Linked DNA regions of Homo sapiens: all the other regions are linked to region 2. Evidence: promoter capture Hi-C in human tissues and cell types (Jung and others, 2019). All regions are on one chromosome and are shown on one strand. Each heading gives the region's core, a stretch centred on a gene start or on the middle of the fragment in contact. The rest is flanking DNA. Distances are from core to core; before and after follow the strand shown. Region 1 overlaps RAPGEF1 (Rap guanine nucleotide exchange factor 1). Region 2 holds the start of FAM78A (family with sequence similarity 78 member A). Region 3 holds the start of QRFP (pyroglutamylated RFamide peptide).

Evidence for each region. Contacts are between HindIII fragments. The study calls those that stand out against the background at their distance.
Region 1: a fragment that was not itself captured here is called in contact with the fragment with the promoter of FAM78A in region 2 in 1 of the 25 tissues and cell types used here (dorsolateral prefrontal cortex).
Region 3: a contact is called between the fragment with the promoter of QRFP here and the fragment with the promoter of FAM78A in region 2, in 2 of the 25 tissues and cell types used here (bladder and liver).

The regions. Positions count from the first base shown.
Region 1 is chr9:131,712,016-131,714,715 of GRCh38, forward strand. The region is part of intron 1 of RAPGEF1 (Rap guanine nucleotide exchange factor 1); the gene reads right to left. Among named protein-coding and RNA genes, the nearest start is that of RAPGEF1, 27 kb to the right of the region's middle. RefSeq lists enhancers at 53-554, 555-1,054. The HindIII fragment of the contact is 4,070 bases long and covers 1-2,700 here.
Region 2 is chr9:131,275,172-131,277,871 of GRCh38, forward strand. It overlaps FAM78A (family with sequence similarity 78 member A), which reads right to left and starts at 1,339. Exons shown (of 2, transcript NM_033387.4): 1 at 686-1,339. The coding sequence starts at 1,008. RefSeq lists enhancers at 19-68, 54-666, 79-128, 159-208, 369-868 and a silencer at 1,509-2,688. The HindIII fragment of the contact is 9,704 bases long and covers 1-2,700 here.
Region 3 is chr9:130,895,362-130,898,061 of GRCh38, forward strand. QRFP (pyroglutamylated RFamide peptide) reads right to left here and starts at 1,451. Exons shown (of 3, transcript NM_198180.3): 1 at 1,216-1,451; 2 at 336-620. RefSeq lists enhancers at 1-259, 260-946. The HindIII fragment of the contact is 19,380 bases long and covers 1-2,473 here.

The sequences.
Region 1 (2,700 bases), core at 73-2,572, 440 kb after region 2:
TTGATCTACCAATACAGAGATCATTTTTGCAAAATCACGGCCTGAGAGTCCAAACTTGGCAAAGCAAATGGCATGTGTCTGTCGCACCGTCTCCAATGAGGTGGCAGGAAAGAGCATGGGTGCAGAGGCTCCCTGTTTCCCTCACAGAGCCCGCAAGCTCCTCCCCAGATTAAACTGCAGCCACAAACTGGAATAAAGCACAGGGAACCCCCACCACGCGAGAGGGGTCCAGTGAAAACTAACAGTTGCACAGCAGAATACCTGGCACACAGTAGGTGCTTAATAACTCTCTGTTGAATAAATGAGTGGATAGGTGACAGAATAAACCAATGAGAATTATCCCCAACATACACACACTGATTGTCCCCACCCCCTGGAATGCATTAACCAGAGTTTCTAATCCATAAACAACCTCTCCTCTCCTAGCAAGAGTCAGAGGGTATGGGCGGCTGGGGCGCTGTTTCCTCCACTTCCCCACTCCTTAGCTCAGGCCACTCTGGGCCCTGGAATTTCTTCCCTATCAGGAGTGCGAAGCCCCTGAAGTCAGGAGCCGTGTCTGGGGCAGCTCCTCCTGGCGCCTGTGCACACAGACAACAATGGGTCACAGTTACAGAACCTGGGCTCAGGTGTGCCCTCTCTCGTTTCTCAGCTGGGGGCCAACACATTTGTAACTGTGTTTCCATGAAAAAACGCATCCTAGGTTCCAAACAACTAATATACTGATGAACCTTTAGAATGAACTGGACATTTTTCCTTGAGAGAACAGCTTTGAAATGAGGACCCTGTGGTCCAACCCTTCTCAATCATGGCTCCCCCAAAATAACTCCAATGTGAACTGTTCAGGGGTAGGGGGAGGGGGAGAGCAACAGAATAACCTAATCTTAAGAATTCCTCTCTAATCCCCAGCTCAGAAAGCGTCTTTTACAGTCATCCCCTCTGCAGTGTCCCAGACTAAGCAAACAAACAAAAAAACATAGAGCCATCCCCAAAGACCAATATGCTTGCAATCCAAGATGGGCAAGCGACCCATCTCCAGTCCACATTTCAGGGAGACAACAGAAAATTTTTCTGATTCTTCACAAATGGGAAGAATCAAAAGTGAACTGTTACCAGAAGCAGAAGGCTGACTGCACAGCCACTGTGATGAGTTTCCAAGCCTTGCACAAATACGCCGAGAACGCTGTGGCTGTACGAACTGCCTTCAATCAGACCCGACCTGGCCATGTGTTATCAAGGTCACTCCTTCAGGTATGACTACTCCAAGCCTCAAATCTCTGTAAAACCCAAGGAGATCCACAAGATCATCTGCTCCAGCGACTCCCTTCCCCATTTCACAGATTCCTCAGAGAGGGGCAGGGATCAACGCTAGGCATTTAGTTGGAGGGCTGGATCCAGCCCCCAAATCTTTATCCTTGGCTAGGAAAACCTCTGCTACCCATTTCCTCATGACCAGAGGAGGCAGGAGGGCAGTGTGAAGGAATTGGCTTTGAAGGCCAGCTGGCCTGGTTTGAATCTATGGGGGCACTTCCTAGCTGAACAACTTTGGGATAGAAACTAAACCTTTCCACACCTTGTATTTTCACATACATTCATGTGTACCATTATGCTGTCTACTTCATGGGTAGTTTAAAGGTTAAATAAGAATTCAGACTTGGGAGGCTGAGGTGGGAGGTTGAGGCAGGAGAATCATTTGAGCCCAGGAGGTCAAGACTGCAGTGATTTGTGATCACACCACTGCACTCCAGTCTGGGCCACAGAGCGAGAACCCATCTCTAAAAAACTAAACTAAAATAAAGATGTTTAAAATTTGTTGGTACACAGCAGATACTCAATGAGAATAGCTGTCACTGTTTTTATTATTATTACCTATAAATCTCCAAGCTTTAGATACAATACATTGAAAAAAATTATTTACCCTCACTAGGGATTTTCTCCCCCATATCAGAGTAAGATCCACTGCAATATTCTAGTAAATAATCATTCTCTTAGTATAATTAAAATAAAATTTATCTTACAAACATCTGTACCTCAGGAATAATTTTTTTTTTTAAGAGACAGGGTCTCCCTATATTGCCCAGGTGGCCTCAAACTCCTAGGCTCAAGTGATCCTCCTGCCTCAGCCTCCCGAGTAGCTGGACTCCAGGAGGAATGATATTTTGATTGTGGAACATGACATAAGCCAGAGGGGTAATATTGTGGCCACTGAAGTAGGAAACATTTTAAGGAGTGCCTGTCCCTACACGCAAGACGCTGTTGGCTCCAGACGAACTCTGAGTCAGGATCCTGCAAGGCGGTGCTCACTTCTTGAAGGAGATTTTTTTTTTTTTTTAGATAGAAATGGCTCAGAAGGGAAGGGCTCGTGGATCCCTGTAATGTGCACACTCACCCACCCAGAACCAAAGAAACAGAGGCTGGGCTCTCAGGCGGGTACCCGGTAGCTCACACAAAGCTTTGTGTATGGAATTTGTCTGCTGGGAGGAAAGTCTGATGTTGGTCACTTCCCTCCTGGAGAAAAATACAACAATACGAGGAAGCGCCAAGCACTGTGGGAATGTTCCAAGTGTGAGTTCCAGCTCAGCCCAGAATATAAACAAAAGCGATGACCAGCCTGGAGGTCAGGCCTAGCAAAGCACTGAGGCAGAAAGTCTGGGAGGCACTCTTCTGTCTTCTGGGGTCCTCTAGACTCTGCCTTTTTTTTTT
Region 2 (2,700 bases), core at 89-2,588:
GAGAGGCTCCTCTTTGCTGTTCCTGTTAGGGCCTCGCCAGAGGGACACTGGACTTGTCTGCATAAAGCGGTCTTCTGCCTTGGAGACAGAAAGCGATACACTGTGAAGAAATCGGGCTTCTAAAACTAACTGTGCTCTCAAACACAGTGCCGTTTGGAACGGGGAAGCACTCCCCCAGCTCCTGGCATACACTGGTAAAAGCCAGAAAGATAATTGAGGCCCAATCGCAAAGCCCTGAACACACCGGTCTGGGAGTTGCAGAGTGCCTGAATGTCTGCCATGGGCCCGCACAGGGCCAGAGGCCTGGAGGGCAGCCCTGCAGCCTCTCTGGTGACCCCTGATGGCACAGACACTCCTCAGGCGGACGGCACACTTGCTCTGCCAGGAAACACTGGGAGTAATGTCTCTCTGCTTTCTCGGCATCTTGCAGGGAAGGACACAGGAACCCGGGGGGAACAGTGGCAGGGTAGATTGCAGGACCGTGACTCCAATCTGGATCCACAGGCAAACTTTTCAGGGAGCCACCGGGCCAATGAGGCCACCTGCATACCTGCCTAAAGCTTCCCTCTGGCCTCCGTCCTGTCTTCATGGTATCTCCACCTTCCCCCTATCCGCGGCCCCCCACCAGGCCTCCAAGCTCGGCCATCCCTAGCAGTTCCCAGAGCTGGCTCTCGGCCGTACTCACATGCCCTGCTCGCCGTACTGGTTGTAGAACTCCATGTGGCTGCACGCCTGGATCCAGCCAACTACCCAAGTCTCCTTCTTGGGGATGGGCGGCATGACCACCTGGGCCGAGGCCCGGAAGTGGGGTGTCCGGTAGCGGAGCACCACGCTGGAGGACTCATCGATGCTAGTGGGGACGGGGTCGATGGAGGCTTTCACATCAATCACCGTGATCCCTTCCCGGAAGACTCTGGCTTTGCCTCCGATGCTCTGAATACAGCCCATGGCATACAGGAGCGCTCTGATCTCCAGGGAAGGCCAGCAGTCACAGAAAAAACCAGGCATTGAAAGGACAGAGGCTGCAGGACCCAGTACAGACGGCGCTGCTCTCCAATCTCAACTCTCAAGACCGATATCCATAGGATAGAAAACTCACTGAGTAGACTGGGGTTGCATATATCACTACCGCGGCCTGTTTATAAATAAGGATTCTGCTGCATTTCATGAGCCCTGGGCTCTCTCTTCTTCTCCTCGCAGTGGACAAAAATCACCGATATTCTTTGGGTTAAAAAAAGTTTGTAGTTTAATGAATAATTATGCGGTTCTGACATCCAGCCCTTCTGTGCCTCACACGCGGGGACGGCAGCTCGCAGACTCTCCCTGAAGTCTTCGGAGGAAGCAGGCGAGCGCCGGCAGACTCATAAATAAGGAAGGCTCTGTCCCCGCGCGGCCGCGCCACCCTCGCGGCAGAAGCCTGACTTCCTGCCCTCCGGCCTTCCGCACGCGCTCCCTCCGGGCCCCGCACCCGCACCCGCCCGGCGCGGTCGAATCAATTGCAGAGCAGTTTGTGTTCACCCGGCCGAGGTCCCGGCGCCCTCGGGGCGAGCGCCGACCCGCGGCTTCCAGGAGGCGAGCTCAGGGCTCCGGCCGCTCGCCGGTGACGGGGGAGCGCGGCGCGGGTCCCCGTCGGCGCCCACTCGCGGGCGCGGGCCGGACGTCCCCACGCAGGGGCGCCGCGTCCCTTCGCCGCTGTCGCTGCCGGCCGCCGTGCAGGGTCCCGGGGCTGCGCTCCGGCCGCCGCCGCCTGCTTCGCCGCGGCCGCCGAGGACCTGGTGGGAGGTGGAAGGGACAGCGCGTCAAGGCCAGCCTCAAAGTTAAGCCGAACTTTGCTGCGGGGGGCGCGCGGGGGCGGCGACGCGTGTGCGCTGGGCGCGGGCTGCGGAGCTGACGGCGCAGCTCTGGGCGGTCTCCCCGGAGGCGGTGGCCCCCGCCCCCCGCGCCCGCCCCGTCAGTGGCGGCCGCACGACCGCGCGCACCAGCGAATAATAGCCGCCCGTGACATCTCCGCTGATACCGTCCCGGACGGGCGGGGTGGGGGGCGAGCGGCTGCCGCTGCAGGGGGCGGCGAGCACTTGCCCTGCTCTGTCCCCACCGCCGCGCCGCCAGCGCCAGGTGCCCCTTCCCCACCCCGGTCCCTCCGGCTCCCTGGGCGCAGGGCCACCCACCAGTGCCGTCGGATCCGGCGGGCACCCCTTTCCCGGCTGGGGTCCCTCGGCCCTCGGAGGGCATAGTGCCCCCGCTCCGCCGCGTCAAGCGCCTCTGTCGCCCCTCTCCAGCCGCGAGCAGCCCCGGGTCCCCACGCGTCGGGCGCGCTCGCCGCTGCCGGGGAACTTTGGCGCGCACGCCCCCACTCGGGCGGCGCCGCCGACTCACCTGCCCCGGGGGCCACTCCGCTGGCCCGGGCAGCCGCTCTCCGGACGCCCCTGACCCGGCCGCGGGCACGTTCTTGGGGCGCCCCCACCCCCTTCCCCGGGCACTGTCCCTTGGCTCTACTGGAGTCTGGGGCCGGCGTGGGCGCCCCCGGCCCCCACCCTCCTCCCGGCTTGGGGCTTCGGGGGGGCGGCCGGGGGCGGAGGGCTGAGGCTCGGGGCTCTCTCGCCCCCACCCCGCGCGCCTCCTTTATTTTATGATCATTGTGAGCGCGCTGTCGCCGCTCAGCCCCGCCGCCGCGCCGCTGCCGCCTGGCGCGCCCCGCGC
Region 3 (2,700 bases), core at 201-2,700, 380 kb before region 2:
TTCACCCCTTTTAGGGGTTCATGCACCCCTTCAAGAATCTGGTAGAAAGTGGGGATGCTCATCACGGGACAGGCGGCCCCAGCGCGAGTCAGGGCTTCAGGCCCCACAGCCAGGAAGGGACAGGAAAAGCACGGGTGAGGCTGGGTCCCAGCCCTGGCAGGGCAGCCGTGACCAATCTGTGCTGCTCTGGGCTGTTGGCAGGGGAGGCACTGGTGTCCCCTCTCCGGGCACTCCCTCCCTGTGCTTCTGTGTGCCCTCTGACTGCCCATGCCTGGCTCCTGCCTGGGCAGGGCCTGAGCTGGGGTTCCTGCTGGGGACAGGGCAGCTATGCTCACCGTGTGGCTGGGACTGCTCCCAGGAAGGCTGGCTGGTGGATCGCTGGGCTCCGGGGCTGGGCTGGGCAGAGCTGCTCTGGGTCCTCGTCCAGGAGGCATGGCCCCTGGGCTCTCCCTGCTTTATATGGCCCGCGGTGCGCTTGCTGCTCTGCCGACTGCCTGCTGCGCATTCCTGACCCTGGGATTCCATTGGGGACGCTGTTGTTGAAGAGGGGCAGTGCTGACCGCGTTGATAAAAACAACCTCACACAGGATGTAGTCTGATGAGAGGGCAGGCGGGCTGCCCTTTGGAGGAGAGCAGACAGCATCATTAACTGCAAATTGCGGGCACAGACCCTCGAGTCCCTTGGCGGGGGTTCCAAGCCCACCCTTCACCCTAAGGGTCCTGCCTTTGCTGGGTTGGCACCTCACGCTCCGGAGAGGACATGGGGTGGGTGGACATCTACCCGACACACCTACTGCCCAGCTTGCAGGATGGCTTTCATGGGCAGGAAAGCCACAGACACCCATGAGGCCCGTGTTTCACAGGCACCGGGCTGCGCGGCTAAGCCAGGTGCACCTCCCCGGCAGGTGGAGCCCTCAGCGGCCTGTTACCCAGGAACCAACCAAGGGGGCACGGCAGATGCCCAGGACAGCAGTGGAGCATTTGCCTGTGGCCCCCAGCCCCTCCCACCGCATACCCTGGGTGGCCCCCTACTGTCACCGAGGGTCACCTCTGGGAGGCCAGCAGGAGGACCCAGCCTCTGCTCCTTGCCCGGCAGAGATTCTCCCTCCACTGAGAGCAGGCAGGGGGGTGATGAGGCAGCCCCACCCCACCACTGTCAGGAACTGAGCACAGAGGGCCTCCCCCATTCCAGGGGCCCTCACCCAGCCGACCTACCCCTGCATCCCGGCTGCTGGGGGATCAGAAGTCATGGGAATAGAGAGCCTGTGGACACTTCCCCAGAGACCTGAGGAAGGCACTGGAATCTCGATCCTCCACTTCGGGGCTGAGCGCCCAGGTTCGGGCGGAGGGTCTGCGGATTGAAGCCGATGACTGAGCTTTGCTGGCCAGAACCAGCTTCCATCCCCCAGGCCAGGGCTGCCTCCGATGGCCTGAGGTGCCCCTGTCCTGTGTGTGCATGTGTGTGTATGCCCCCACATGAGTATGTGCACACGTGCGTACACGTGTGTGTGCTCGTGAGACGGGAGGTGTGGTGTCCTTCTGTCTCCCTGGTTAGTGCTGGTTGATTCTGACAGCGGGCACCAGTTATCCATGGGGTGCCGCCCAGGGTGGGTCTCTACCGTGCTATGAGCCTGGACCGGATGCCTGCCCTCTGGGTGCCTCAGTGCTCCCTTGGTGTAAAGCGAGGTTCAAGTTCCCAAGCTGTGCTTTGCAGAATTCCTCAGGAATGGCCATGGAAGTTGGGGAAGGCAACATGGGGTCCAATCCCGCAGGCACCCCTCTCCTACAGGCACCCCACTCCCCTACAGGCTACCCCTCTGCCCTACAGGCACCCCTTTGCCCCACACGCACCCCTCTGCCCCACAGACACTCCTCTGCCCTACAGGCACCTCTCTGCCCCGCAGGCACCCCTGTGACCCACATGCACCCCTGTGCCCCGCAGGCACCCCTGTGCCCCGCACGCACCCCTGTGCCCTGCATGCACCCCTGTGCCCCGCACACACCCCTGTGCCCTGCACGCGCCCCTGTGCCCCTCAGGCCAAGCCCCACTTTGCTGTGTTTGACATGTTGAGCTCCCAGAAAAGGTTCTGCTTTGAAACCACCAGGGCCCGGAGTCCTTTTGCGGGACTGAGGTCTGTGGCTCTGAGAGGTGGTCACAGAATGTCCTGCATGTGAGGGGCTGGTCTGGGGTGGGAGCAATATTGGGGTGAGGATGAGGGGTCCCCACGTGGCCCACATGTTCCCCAGCCTCAGGTCCCCGCCTGCCCCCTTCAGACCGGGGTGCCTGGAGCCCAGTCAGGCGTTGGATTTGGTGCCAAACCTTCTGACTCCAGGGACTTGCCTGGTCCCCTCCACCCCTGGAACTCCTGGACGGAAAAATTGCTTTCAGATGCCCTTCCTGGGCCCCTGGAAGCATCTGGGTTCCCCCACCTCTTGAGCAATTGGGGGTGACAACTGTGCCACTGTTTGCCACCAGCAGCCGAGATAGGCAGGGTCTGGGCTGCCTGGATGCACAGGGTGGCCGGGGCTAGATCAGTCCAAGAGTGGCAGTACCCATCGGGGCGGCTTCCAGCGCTGGAGGCTTTTTCTGCTGTCGGGTAAATGCAGGGAGGCGAGGCGTGAGGGTGGTGGGGCTGGTGGTGCAGGAAGCCGCTCTGGGGGTGGAGTCCGTGGACCACCTCGAAGCCTGTGGGGTTCCCT